2 separate regions of the Homo sapiens genome follow, and region 2 is linked to region 1. Evidence: promoter capture Hi-C in 16 types of primary human blood cells and fetal thymus (Javierre and others, 2016). All regions are on one chromosome and are shown on one strand. The core of a region is centred on a gene start or on the middle of the fragment in contact, and the rest is flanking DNA. Distances in the headings are between cores, read along the strand shown. Region 1 holds the start of ANKAR (ankyrin and armadillo repeat containing). Region 2 has its middle 23 kb from the start of MSTN.

What was found. The method cuts DNA at HindIII sites, captures the fragments that hold promoters and counts their contacts. A CHiCAGO score of 5 or more calls a contact.
Region 2: a fragment that was not itself captured here is called in contact with the fragment with the promoter of ANKAR in region 1 in 5 of 17 cell types (M2 macrophages, total B cells, naive B cells and 2 more); the score reaches 8.1 in M2 macrophages.

What each region holds. Positions count from the first base shown.
Region 1 is chr2:189,671,531-189,677,630 of GRCh38, forward strand. ANKAR (ankyrin and armadillo repeat containing) reads left to right here and starts at 3,140. Exons shown (of 23, transcript NM_001378068.1): 1 at 3,140-3,300; 2 at 4,926-5,561. The coding sequence starts at 4,961. It overlaps LOC105373793 (a long non-coding RNA gene), which reads right to left and starts at 2,755. Exons shown (of 2, transcript XR_923692.3): 1 at 2,301-2,755; 2 at 1,590-1,863. RefSeq lists a silencer at 2,796-3,215 and an enhancer at 3,266-3,525. The HindIII fragment of the contact is 6,953 bases long and covers 1-4,446 here.
Region 2 is chr2:190,082,217-190,088,316 of GRCh38, forward strand. It overlaps a transcript of AKAP19 not described here. Among named protein-coding and RNA genes, the nearest start is that of MSTN, 23 kb to the left of the region's middle. The HindIII fragment of the contact is 958 bases long and covers 2,196-3,153 here.

The DNA of each region.
Region 1 (6,100 bases), core at 1,890-4,389:
GTATCCTATATAATAAGCCAGTAAACATAAGTATTTCTATGAGTGCTGTGAGCCATTCTAGCAAATTATCGAACCTGAATAGGGGGTCATGAAAACCCCCAGTTTATGTAGCTGGTCAATCAGAAGTACCAGAGATCCAGACTTGAAATTGCCATCTAAAGCAGAGACACCTTATGGCACTGAGCCCTTAAATGGAAGGATCTGACACTCACTCCAGGTAGATAGAGGCAGGATTAAACTGTAGGATACCCAGCTGGTATTCAGAGAGCTGGAGAATTGCTTGGTAATTCTCCACACATCTGGTGGAAAAAATCCACACATCTGGTGTCAGAAGTGTTGTGTGAGAGTGAAGAGAAACAGTTTGTTTTCCCAGACTCACTCTCTTTGATCACTCCATCCAGAAATGATTCAGTTCCCTCTCTTCAGGGACCATGGTTTAGACAGGGTCCTGTTTCATGGATAAAAGAACTACAGGTTTAAAGAAGCTAAACAATTTGCTTGAGGTTCATCCTCCTGAACAGTACTTGTTACTTCTATTACATCTTTTTAGGCAGCTCATTTTCCCACCCCAGTAACTTTTAAAGACTACAGTTGACCCCTGAACAACACATTTGAACTGTGCAGTTCCACTTATATGTGGATTTTCTGCCTCTGCCACCCCGAGACAGCCCCTTCTCCTCCTCAGCCTACTCAACCTGAAGACAAGAATAATTACGTCTTCCTCTACTTACTATGTCTTGCCTCTCATCCACAGTCACTCTCTCCACCTTTTTGTCTATTTACTCCAACCTGACATCCACCCACATTACTCAACTGTTAACTGCCATACCAGTGTCACTGTGAAATCTGTCCATTAGGATCGACACCATTTCTGGATCTGGCCACCCTTTGATTCTTTAATCACAGTAGCAAATAAATTTTAGGATCCGGACAAACAGGTCAGTAACCTGGCAAAGGCTTTCACATGCCCCGAATTTATTCCCTGGAAGATGCAATGTTCAACCAAAATTTAGATACTGCCTACATAGCTTTCATCCCTCAATCTGAAAGCAGACAACTTCAAGTGTCTGTGTGGGCCTGAGCACTAAATTGACATTGCTTATATTGGGAGTAGATGAACTTAAGAGGTTTGCCCCACGGCCTAGAATTGAATATTATAACACCAATACAGTTTAATACTGAAAATAGCTATAACTTACATAATGCTATATTCCAGGTGCTACTCTACTCTATGAGATTTAAATGTATTAATCAGTCAAACTTTTATAAGGAATTTCCAGGTCATCTGCTCCACCAGAATACTGAGAGAGACAGAGAGAGGATACACATGCATGTGTGTGAACCCCAAGAGGGCCTGGGCATTTACAACCTTCTGCTATTCAATCCCATTAGCTCTGGGATGGAGTTCTGTGTTGATCCTTTAAAAAATGAGGCATCTCTTTCCGAAGATTTGAGACACATGGAACAAACCATTTGGCTACCCAGGGGGAAACAATCCTTGAAGTAGGAGAATGTACATATATGGTTCATATTTCTTAAGTGCAAACATGCAAATCTTTGTAAAAAAAAAAGCCCTGGAATAGTCCTCATAAATTTATTAATATTTATTTCCATAGTAGCTAAAATAATGACATGGTTACTGGAAGAGAAATTCTGCCCCAAACAGTCACCAAGAACTTCCAAGCTGCTGCATTCAGTGGAAGTTTGTTCTCATCTCCCCTGACCGAGCAGCAGCATCCGATAAAGTTGGCCATTCCTTTTTTTTTTTCCACACACTTCTTTGGCTTCTGTGACCAATTTTGGTTTTCCTCCTGCCTTCTTGGCTGTTCTTTTTGTCTTCTTTGCTGACTTCACTCTCTCTACCTGACGTTTAAATGTTAAATTTCTCAGGTCTCTAATCCTTGGTTCTCAACTCCTCATTCTGCACGCTCTCCCTTGGTGATTTCAACCCCACTCCTGGCTTCAATTACTATAAATCTGCCAAAATTTATACATCTAACCCCTACTGCCATTCTTAGCCCAGAACTGTTTATCTAAAGCATATCTCACATCTCAATTTCTCTCACAGGTACTTCAAGGTCAATTAGTACATAACTGAACTCTTAATCTTGCCCTGATATCCTGTTGCTCCTGACAGAAATGTGGTTCTGACTTGGACACAACCTTCTTTTTCAACATATCCCCAATCTGTCACCAACAGGCAACCTCATTATTTTTCAAATCTGTCCACAGTCCCTGAGCCCCACCTCCACTGCCACTACTGTAGGCTAATCCTTTGGGATGAAATTCAAAATCATTACTCAGCAGCCTGCATGATCTGTCCATCGCGCACCTCAGCAGCTCGGTTTGTGCCCACATCTCTCTTGTTCTCTAAGCAGGGTTTTGCGGTTTCTCAACCATTTCAACTTTGTTCTCACTTCAATTCTTTCTCTCCTGCTGTTCCCTGTTCCTGAAAAGCTACTTGTCCAGTCCTTTGCTTGGGTAGCTCTTTTCCATCTTCTAGGCTCGGAGGGGAAAAGGGCACTTCCTTAGGCAGCCTTTCCTAGCCCTGGGCTAGGTTAGCTTTCATTCGAGTGCTGTCATTCCATCTAATATTGGCACACTGTTAAATATAGCTGTGAGATGATCTGTTCAACTGTAAGCTCCTTGGGGTTTCGTGTCTGCCCTGTTTTCTAGGGTTTCCAGCTTGTAGCTGGGTGCCTGACTCATAATAGGTGTTCCATAAATGCTTGTTGAATGAAAGAATGATGATGGAGGTGGTATTCCAACTCGGGACTGCCTCAACGCCCGGCGCTGTCTCCTCTGCTACTCTGTTTCGGTGTTTTAGCAGAGGCAGATAGTGAGGGCGGCACAGTGCCCACGGCATGCCGCTGGACTAAGCGCTAAGCGGGCTTGGGATGATGCGCACGCGGGGGGTCTGAGCCAGCCAAGGGGCCGGGCGCCGCCTGGGGGCGCTGCGGCTGCTGCGGGACGCACCAGGCCTAGTCGCCCGCAGGCTCCGCCCGAGGAGCAGCCCAGCCACCCCAGGGCCCGGAGGACCAACCGCTTCGACCCGCGCCCGGGCGGCGGCAGTGTTGGCCGGCGAGGCGAGGAGGGCCGGGCCGCCACGGTGGGGCGAAAAGCCCTGAAAGTTCCTCTCAGTTCCTTCCGGTGCGCCTCCCGCTCGCCCTTGCGGAGGCCCTGAGGGCGGATTCAAGGCCCCGCGAGAAGCCATCTGAGGCGGCGACGACTGTTCTCAGCCCCACGGGAACGCCGCGGACGCAGCGTCCCTCTCCCGGACAAGAAAACAGCCATTCTAGAGTAGGTTCCTCCCCTTTCCTTGTTTTTTCCCCTTTCCCGTGCCCATGGCTGACGCGAGCTGCTTTTGGACGTGGGTCCCGGGCTTGACTGGACAGACGTGGGTTCTGTTTCTGAAAGGCGTAAAACCTCAGACTTGTCCTGCAACCTCCTGGTCTCCGTTTTTGCCTCTATAAAGTGGGCATAACAAGGTCTGACTCACTGACCTGGGGTCTCAGGTGTGGCGCCCAAACCAGCACTATCAGCATTTCCTGTAACTTTACTAAAACGCATATTTTCTGGCCCCACTACAGCTCATTGAATCAGAAACTCAGTGGTGGGATTCAGCGATTTGTATTTGAACAAGCCCCAGGTGATTTTGATACAAGCTAAATTTTGAGAACCACTATATAATAGAGACCAATCAGATGAAATAAATCAAACCATTATATAGTAAAGAACCTGGCTCAATAAATAGTAGTTGTGGTTATTATTATTTCAGGAATAGACAGGCATTCATTGGCACAGAAATTGAAGGTTAAGCAAATGCTTCTTTCCTTTTCTTTTTCTTTTTTTTTTCTTTTTTTGAAACAGTGTTTTTCACACTTGTTGCCCAGGCCACCGCAACCTCCGCCTCCTGGGTTCAGCCTCCTGTCTCAAGCCCCGCGAGTAGCTGAGATTACAGGCATGTACGACCACGTTTGGCTAATTTTGTATTTTTAGTAGAGACGGAGTTTCTCCATGTTTGTCAGGCTGTTCTCGAACTCCTGACATCAGTTGATCTGCCCGACTTGGCCTCCCAAAGTGCTGGGATTACACGCATGAGCCACTGCGCCCCACCCTTTTCTTTTCTTTCATGCAGGTCAGTATAGTCTTGCTTTAAAAAACTGAAAACAAAATAAATATCCATATGATTTGGATATTTATCCCCTCCAAATCTCATGTTAAAATAGATTCCCCAATGTTGGAGGTAGGGCTTGGTGCGAGGTGTTTGGATTATGGGGGTGGATCCCTCATGAATGGCTTGGTGCTTTCCTGGCAGAGTGAACTCTACCTCTGAGCTCATGAAAGATCTGGTTGTTTAAGAGTAGACACCTCCCCTTTCTCTCTATTGTTCCGTCTCTTACCATGTGACACACTGGCTCCCCTTCCCCTTCCGCCATGATTGTAAGCTTGGTCTCACAAGAAGCTGAGCAGATGCTGGTGCCATGCTTGTACAGCCTGCAGAATTGTGAGCCAAATAAACCTCTTTTCTTTATAAATTATGCAGTCTCAGGTATTCCTTTATAGCAACACAAACAGACTAACACGAACATATACAAAAGAATGCCTCTCCAACAACAAAATAGGTATGTAACAGTAGCTTCTCACAGATAAACTTAACGTTTCTTTTTGACATACATCTTCTTGTCTTTTGAATTCTTTGAAAAGCAGAACATGGTTAATGATAAAGGTTTTATAATTTTAATTATTTTAATTCAAATTTCAGTTTTCATATACTGCAGTTATTTTTAATTTGAAAACTATAATGGTTGACCATGAAAAATTAATCTTATGTAGGTGAAAGGTACAGATTTATTTCTAGACAAATCCAGTTTCATTGGCATGTCAGATTTTATTGATAATCTTTTCCTTCTTATTCATTGCAGAAGCTTCAAAAAGGACACACTAGATTTAATTAGAAATGTTAAGATTGCCCAAAAAAGGATTACCTAGATTTGAGCAAGTTCAGGATGAAGACACCTACCTGGAAAATTTAGCAATACAAAGAAATGCATCTGCTTTTTTTGAAAAATATGATCGGAGTGAAATACAAGAGTTACTAACTACTGCACTAGTTAGCTGGTTGTCTGCCAAAGAGGATGTGCGCTCTCAAGTAGACCTCCCATGTGGAATTATGAGTCAAATGAATAACGTAGGCTTCTCCACTGCAATCCTACTGACTCCCGTGGACCCTACTGCCCTCTTAGACTATAGAGAGGTCCATCAAATGATAAGAGAGTTGGCTATTGGAATTTATTGCCTAAATCAAATCCCTTCCATCAGTTTAGAAGCTAATTATGATCAGAGTTCTTCTTGTCAATTACCTCCAGCTTATTATGATACCAGAATTGGGCAAATTCTGATCAATATTGACTACATGCTGAAAGCACTATGGCATGGAATATATATGCCCAAAGAAAAACGAGCTAGATTCTCTGAATTGTGGCGTGCCATCATGGACATTGATCCTGATGGAAAACCTCAAACAAATAAAGACATTTTTTCAGAGTTTAGTTCAGCAGGTAAGAGAATTTAACACTTCTTAAATTTTTTTTTTTTTTTTTTGGAACAGAGTCTTACTACGTCACCCAGGGTGGTCACGAACCCCTGAGCTCAAGCCATTCACCCACCTAGGCCTCCCAAAGTGCTAGGATTACAGGCATGAGCCGCTGCACCTGGCCACTTCTTAATTATTTTTATTCAATGCCATTTTTAAAATTTTTAAATTTTATTTCGATAGTTTTTGGGGGAACAGGTGGTTTTTGGTTACATGGCTAAGTTCTTTAGTGGTGATTTCTGAGATTTTGGTGCACCCATCACCTGAGCAGTGTACACTGTACCCCATGTGTAGTCTTTTATCCCTCATTTTCTTCCTACCTTTCCTCTAGAATCCCCAAAGTCCATTATATCATTCTTATGCCTTTGCGTCCTCATAGCTTAGCTCCCACTTATAAGGGAGAACATAAAATATTTGGCTTGCCATTCCTGAGTTACTTCACTTAGAATAATGGTCTCCAACCCCATCCATGTTTCTGTGAATGCCATTATTTAATTCATTTTT
Region 2 (6,100 bases), core at 1,425-3,924, 410 kb after region 1:
ATATGTTTCTCCTTTCATAAATATTCATGACTTTTCCTATAGCTTATTGAATATGCACATTTGGCCACCCCATTCAGCATAAATTCCTGTCTTACTCTTCTGACCCTTGAAGTATCTGTTTCTGGCTTCTGGCCAGAGGCCATGCTTCCCAGCCTGTCAGGATGGCCACCTGCAGGCTACAACCCTTTATGTGAAATAAAGCTCTCCTTTCCAAATTTCTGAATCTCATCATTCTTCAGTTGATATAGTTAATAGTATAGGATAAATAGAATTTATTCTGTTATATACATTTATTACACTAAACATAGAACCTATACATGCCCACATCGAAAACAGAACATTTCTAAATATAAGGAATATTCTATGACTGTTTTCACGGGCAGTTTTACTAGTACAGCTGGATTGCAAACAATAGAAGTAATGTGCTAGATGTTTTACAAATGTTATTTCATTTAATTCTCATAGCAATTCTTTAAAATAGGAATTATTCTAACCATTATACAAATTAGGAAGCTAAGGCACAGAACGTTTAACTTATCAAAGACTAAACATGGTAGAAATGGGATTTGGAGCCAGGTATATCCAATTCTAAACCCACTTTCTCTCCACTATAGCAGTTTTCCAGTATTAATGCTACCATTTATTGTGTTTCTACTTGTTCCAAATGTAATGTGAGATGCTCAAATACATTCTCCCTGATCCTTATAAAACTTAACACTTTTTAAATTGACAAGTAAAAATTGTATATATTTATGGTAGACAACATGATGTTTTGATATATGCATACATTATGGAATGGCTAAACCAGGCTATTTAACATATGTATTATCTCACATATTTATTTTTTGTGCATGGTGAAACACTTAAAATCTACTCTCTTGGCAGGGTGCGGTGGCACACCCCTGTAATCCCAGCACTTTGGGAGGCCAAGGCGGGTGGATCACTTGAGCTCAGGAGTTTGAGACAAGCCTGGGCAATATGGCAAAACCCCGTCTCTACTAAAAATACAAAAATTAGCCAGGTGTGGTGGTGTGCACCTGTAGTCCCAACTATTTGGGAGGCTGAAGTGGGAGGATCGATGCCTGGGAGGTGGAGGCTGCAGTGAGCCGAGATCGTGCTACTCTCCAAGCTGGGCGACAGAGATCCTGTCTCAAAATAAAATTTTAAAAATCTACTCTCTTGTCAACCTAAAGGAAGAAGCTGAGGCACTAAATATAATTTTAATGAGTTTACTTGAGCCAAGATGAGGACAGCTGCCCAGAAGACTCAGACCTGATAACCTTGTATAAGAGTTCCATTTGACCTTTGTGAAAAGTAGGTTTTTATAGGCAAAAAAGGAAGACGGTGGGCTGATACAAAGTTGTTTTTCAGGAATTCCCATTGGTTTACAGAAATGACATTGATTAGTGATTAGCTATACATTGTTGAACTCTAGGGCGTGAGTTATGGTGTCCATCATGCAACATTGTTAGGTTAACTTACAGCTATTTGCAGCGACAGTCAGTCTAGAGTCCACATAGCAAGAAGCTTCAAGAGGTGATGAGCTCAAGCAGGGAAAGTGGGATGTCACTGCTGCCTTACTCCCATGCCTCTTTGGGCCTGATAATTTAGAGGAGGCTTACATTCCTCAGAGAAGGTTTCTTTTCTTTCTCACTCTTAAAACAATTAAGTACCTTGCTTGTTGAAGTCACACAGCGAGCAAGTTACGGATCTTGACTTCAAGCCTAGGTTTGAGACTCCGAAGCCTATTTTCTTTATAATATATTATACCAGAGCTTCTGAACCTTGGGCATACATTAGAGTCAAATGGTTAAATTTGCACAAAGCCCTACCCCCAGAGAGTCTAATTTAATTGGTCTGGAGTAGAGCTCAGGTTTTTTTTTTTTTTTTTTCTGAGACAGAGTCTGGCTCTGTTGCCCAGGCTAGAGTGCAGTGGCATGGTCTCTGCTCACTGCAACCTCTGCCTCCTGGGCTCAAGGAATTCTTCTGCCTCAGCCTCCCACGTACCTGGGATTACAGGCGCCCACCACCATGCCTGGCTAATTTTTGTACTTTTAGTAGAGACAGGGTTTTACCATGTTGGCCAGGCTGGTTTCGAATTCCTCACCTCAAGTGATCCACCCACCTCAGCCTCCCAAAGTGCTGGGATTACAGGCATGAGCCACCTTGCCCAGCTAGAGCTCAGTTAATTTTAAAGCTTCTGGGTGATTTTAATGTGTTGGCTGGTTTGAGACCACTGATGGGAAGTATAGTTTATCTATCATGATAAATTGGTGGAAAATGCCCCTTATTGACTATTTTTTTGAGGCTGTATTATATAACTCTTTAATGTATTCACGTAGTCAAAAAACACAATAAAATTCCTTTAATCAGATTACAGTCTACAGACTAAACAACTGAGATTCAGTCATTTAATTAACTGACATCCCTTCTTCTAACCCACTTGTCGACTATTTTTAAGGTGATTGTATTTTCCCAGAAAGTACTGAAAAACATACAGGAAGGGACACGGGAGTACGATAACCTAACTTTCAACCTTGGCTTTGATATTTTCTTGCTAAATGGACTTTGACAAGTTACTTAACATTCTGTAAAATATTGATTATGAAAGAAGTAAAAGGTATTCTTGAAAAGGGTTTTATCTGGGGACAGATGGAGGGAATGCTGCCTCTGGTGGCCTCCTGTTGGGGTCAGATGCATATAGTGCATTGAAAAGGCCATGGGAAAACTTTTCTAGTTTTCCTAGTCAGCCTGGCTGTAAAGCCCATCTTCTACTTTCTGCCCCTGCTGCCAACCATTTCCCAAACCACCCTTCTCTTTACACCTAGTCAGGGGTGATTCCTTCATTGCCAGACCACATGGCATTATTGGGAAGTGGCCAGGAGAGGAGGACTCCCTTTTAACCATAGATGCCAGGGTAGGGAATATGTGCTTGAGGGGAGGGAAAGGAAATGGATATTTTCAATCTCATATTAGATTAGACATGAAATATATTTTACCATAGGAACAATCTCTGGATGGTAATTAGGTTTCCTGGTTATTCAATTAAAGCCTATTCATAATTTTGCCAGATATTTACAATATTTTATATGCAAATAACAGTGTATTTCAGTAACATTTTGGGTTCAATAGGCCTTGAAGAATTAGTGTGAAAGCTTAACTGTCATTTTTAACACCGCTTCTGTGAGAAATACGAGATCAGTACTTAGCACTCCAAGAAATAGTTTCTCTCGTCTCTAATTCAGCTTAACAAATATAGCGTTCACTGATCATCTAGTGAAGAGGGAATGAGGCAGCTGAAAGAATCCCATTTCCTCTCTGAAGTTTAGCAGAACTCTTTTAGCTACTGATTATAAGATCACAACGTACTTGAGGCCATGGGCCATTTCTTTCCTTCATTTGTGTTCCCCTTCCCCCTGAACAACTTATCACATAGTATGAGCACGTTGTAGATGTTAATGTATACATAGATTAGATTTGAAATTGGTAATGACCTCACTGTCAATGGAAAATAGGACACTGATCATCCATACCATACAGTGACAAAACATTTCTTAAATGATCAGCTTTTGTTGCTGGTAACCAGGTGCCTCTCAGCAGCAAGGCTTAAGAGATGAAGTAACTGGTGCAATAAAATATTATAGTGGAAATTATGAGCACGAAGGCCATGGGAAAGGTTCTGCTTGCACTAGAAACTACCTAAAAGACTGTCTTGTTTCTTGTACCAGTGGGGCTGAAATAGCCAAAAAACAAACCTAAATTTGCTTCTACAGCTTTCAGCATTACAGTGCAGCCTTTCTAGGCATAGGTTAGTAGAGTGGGATCCTGTGAATGGAAATATTTGGGTAGGTTCTAATGAATCCAACTACAAATCCTTCACTTGTGTTTCCCTTCCTCCAAAGAAATCTATCACATAGTATAAGCACATTGCGGATGTTAACATACACATAGATTAGACTTGAAATCAGTAATGGCCTCACTATCAATGGAAAATAGGATACTGATAATTTGTACAATGTAATGACAAAACATTCCTTAAAATATCACCAATTGTTGCCTGAATTAACAAACTCCACTGAGTCTTAGTTGTTAGTAGGAGCAGTCCTCCTCTTCCATCTGATAACCTGTAATAATTTCACCTGAGGTGGTTTATTTGCAGGAAGATGACGAATCTCCTAAATGTTAATTCTCACTACTTATCACTTCCAGACCCTGACCTATTCCATAATTAGGTTCAAATCCTCAAAGACCTCAAGGAAGATGGGGAAAGAGAAACATTAGAAAATATGCACGATGGTTGCAGTCTACACAATTTATGAGGCCATAGTAGGTATTTGTAACTCCCTCTTCCACTTCCCTTCCCATGCTCCCTTTGCTCAGTTATCATTTTAGCTAGGTGTTATTATTTATCAGTCAGAGTGACCTGAACCTTCATTCCTGAAATATCTGAACCATTGTGGTTCTTGCTTGGCTTGGTTTGCTCTAATCTTGTAAATTTTACCATGGATATGGAAGGAATTGCTCAGATATGGATATGAAAGGAGTTGCTCAGAGAATGTCTTGCCTTTGAGACATGGTCTTCCCTCTGTTTTGTAGTACCACCACTTTTCCCACTTTATGATTAGGATTAATTGTCCCAGCGAATACAGTAATCCCTTTCTTTCCTTGTTGGTTCAGTGCCTTGAAGACCTCAAAGTGGCTGATGTGGCAGTCTCAGCTTCCATTCAAAGGAACCCTTCTAGTGTTTCCTGGAAAAAGTATTCCTTCCATGGAAACTAAGAGCACAACATTGTGAGGTTGGAAACAAAAGTTATGTGAGTAGGTCATTAGGAATAATAATGGAACCACCAATACTTTTACACTTTCATTTTCAGATCTAAGTATTCTGGCTATGGAAGAAATAGCATTATATATTAGTTGCTGGCTTGGGAAATATACAATAACTTGTGGGACAGCAACCTAGTCTTACAAGTGGCAACATAAGTTGTCAATAGATTATTCTACCATTTAATCAAGTCAGATTTTTCCAACAGACATGAAACCATTTCTTCAACTCAGATTCCTTAAATCTCTCATCAGTGAGACTAGCCAGATCATAGTGGGAGAAAAGAATCCTATGTTCTTAAGCCCACACGTGATCAACATGCCCGTTGCTAGGGCCAAAGTGTTCATGGGCCCATTGTACAAGCGCCAGGGTAGCTAGGGGAGGCAGCTAACTGGCATCCACAGGATTGGCCATACTCTTTACTTGATTACTGAGAATCTGTTTTACAGTGGATGCCTTTTAGTAAGCATTAATTTGGGACACAGATATTCTCACTCTGCTTACTCTGAGAGGCCCGTCCTAAAACTCTTCCTCAGGCCTCCCTTTAACCATTCCTCAAATTCTGTTTTCCAACCCGCTGACTCCTTGGCCAAAGTGCCACTTGCCTGTGAATCAATGTCGATCTCTACTTCTGTCTGTCTTCCAGTTAGGTTTTGAATCATACATCATGAACCCTTCCACCCTGAGGTCTTTCCACCCTGCTCAGGGGCATCCTCAGAGCAGGCTCTATAGTGTTCCCAATTGGTCATGAAACCAATAAACCTCTATAACCTTTCTAGTCAGAATGGGACAATCTTCTATCTTGTTCTTTTTACTTAAAGCCCTCTTCTCCCTTCCTTCTCCAGGGCTCCTACCATAATCTTTTGTATAAAAGATAAGGAGTTTTAAAACCTCAGATGGCTTAAGTTTTCCCCATGCAAAAAATTCCGGACACACACAAAAAAGTAGAAAAGAACCTGGCTACCTGCTTGAATAATTGGAGAGGAAAAAATTACAGAGATCATCCCTGAAACACTGTAAAGTATGTATAGCTGATATTATTATACCTATTTTAAAGATGGCAGAAAGGAAATGTGGAAGGAGTAAAGTGACTTTGCCAAAGCTTCCATAACTACCTAAGAATATGATCAGGGACCAGGATTATGCCTTCTGGTACAGTGAGAGGAGAGTGAATGCACAAACCCCATGATCGTGATATGTCTGGGGACCTCTGATTTAAGGAGTGGAGAAAGAGAAGTATTGATTGGTAGAAGAAAAATGAAGATGCAAAGAGCA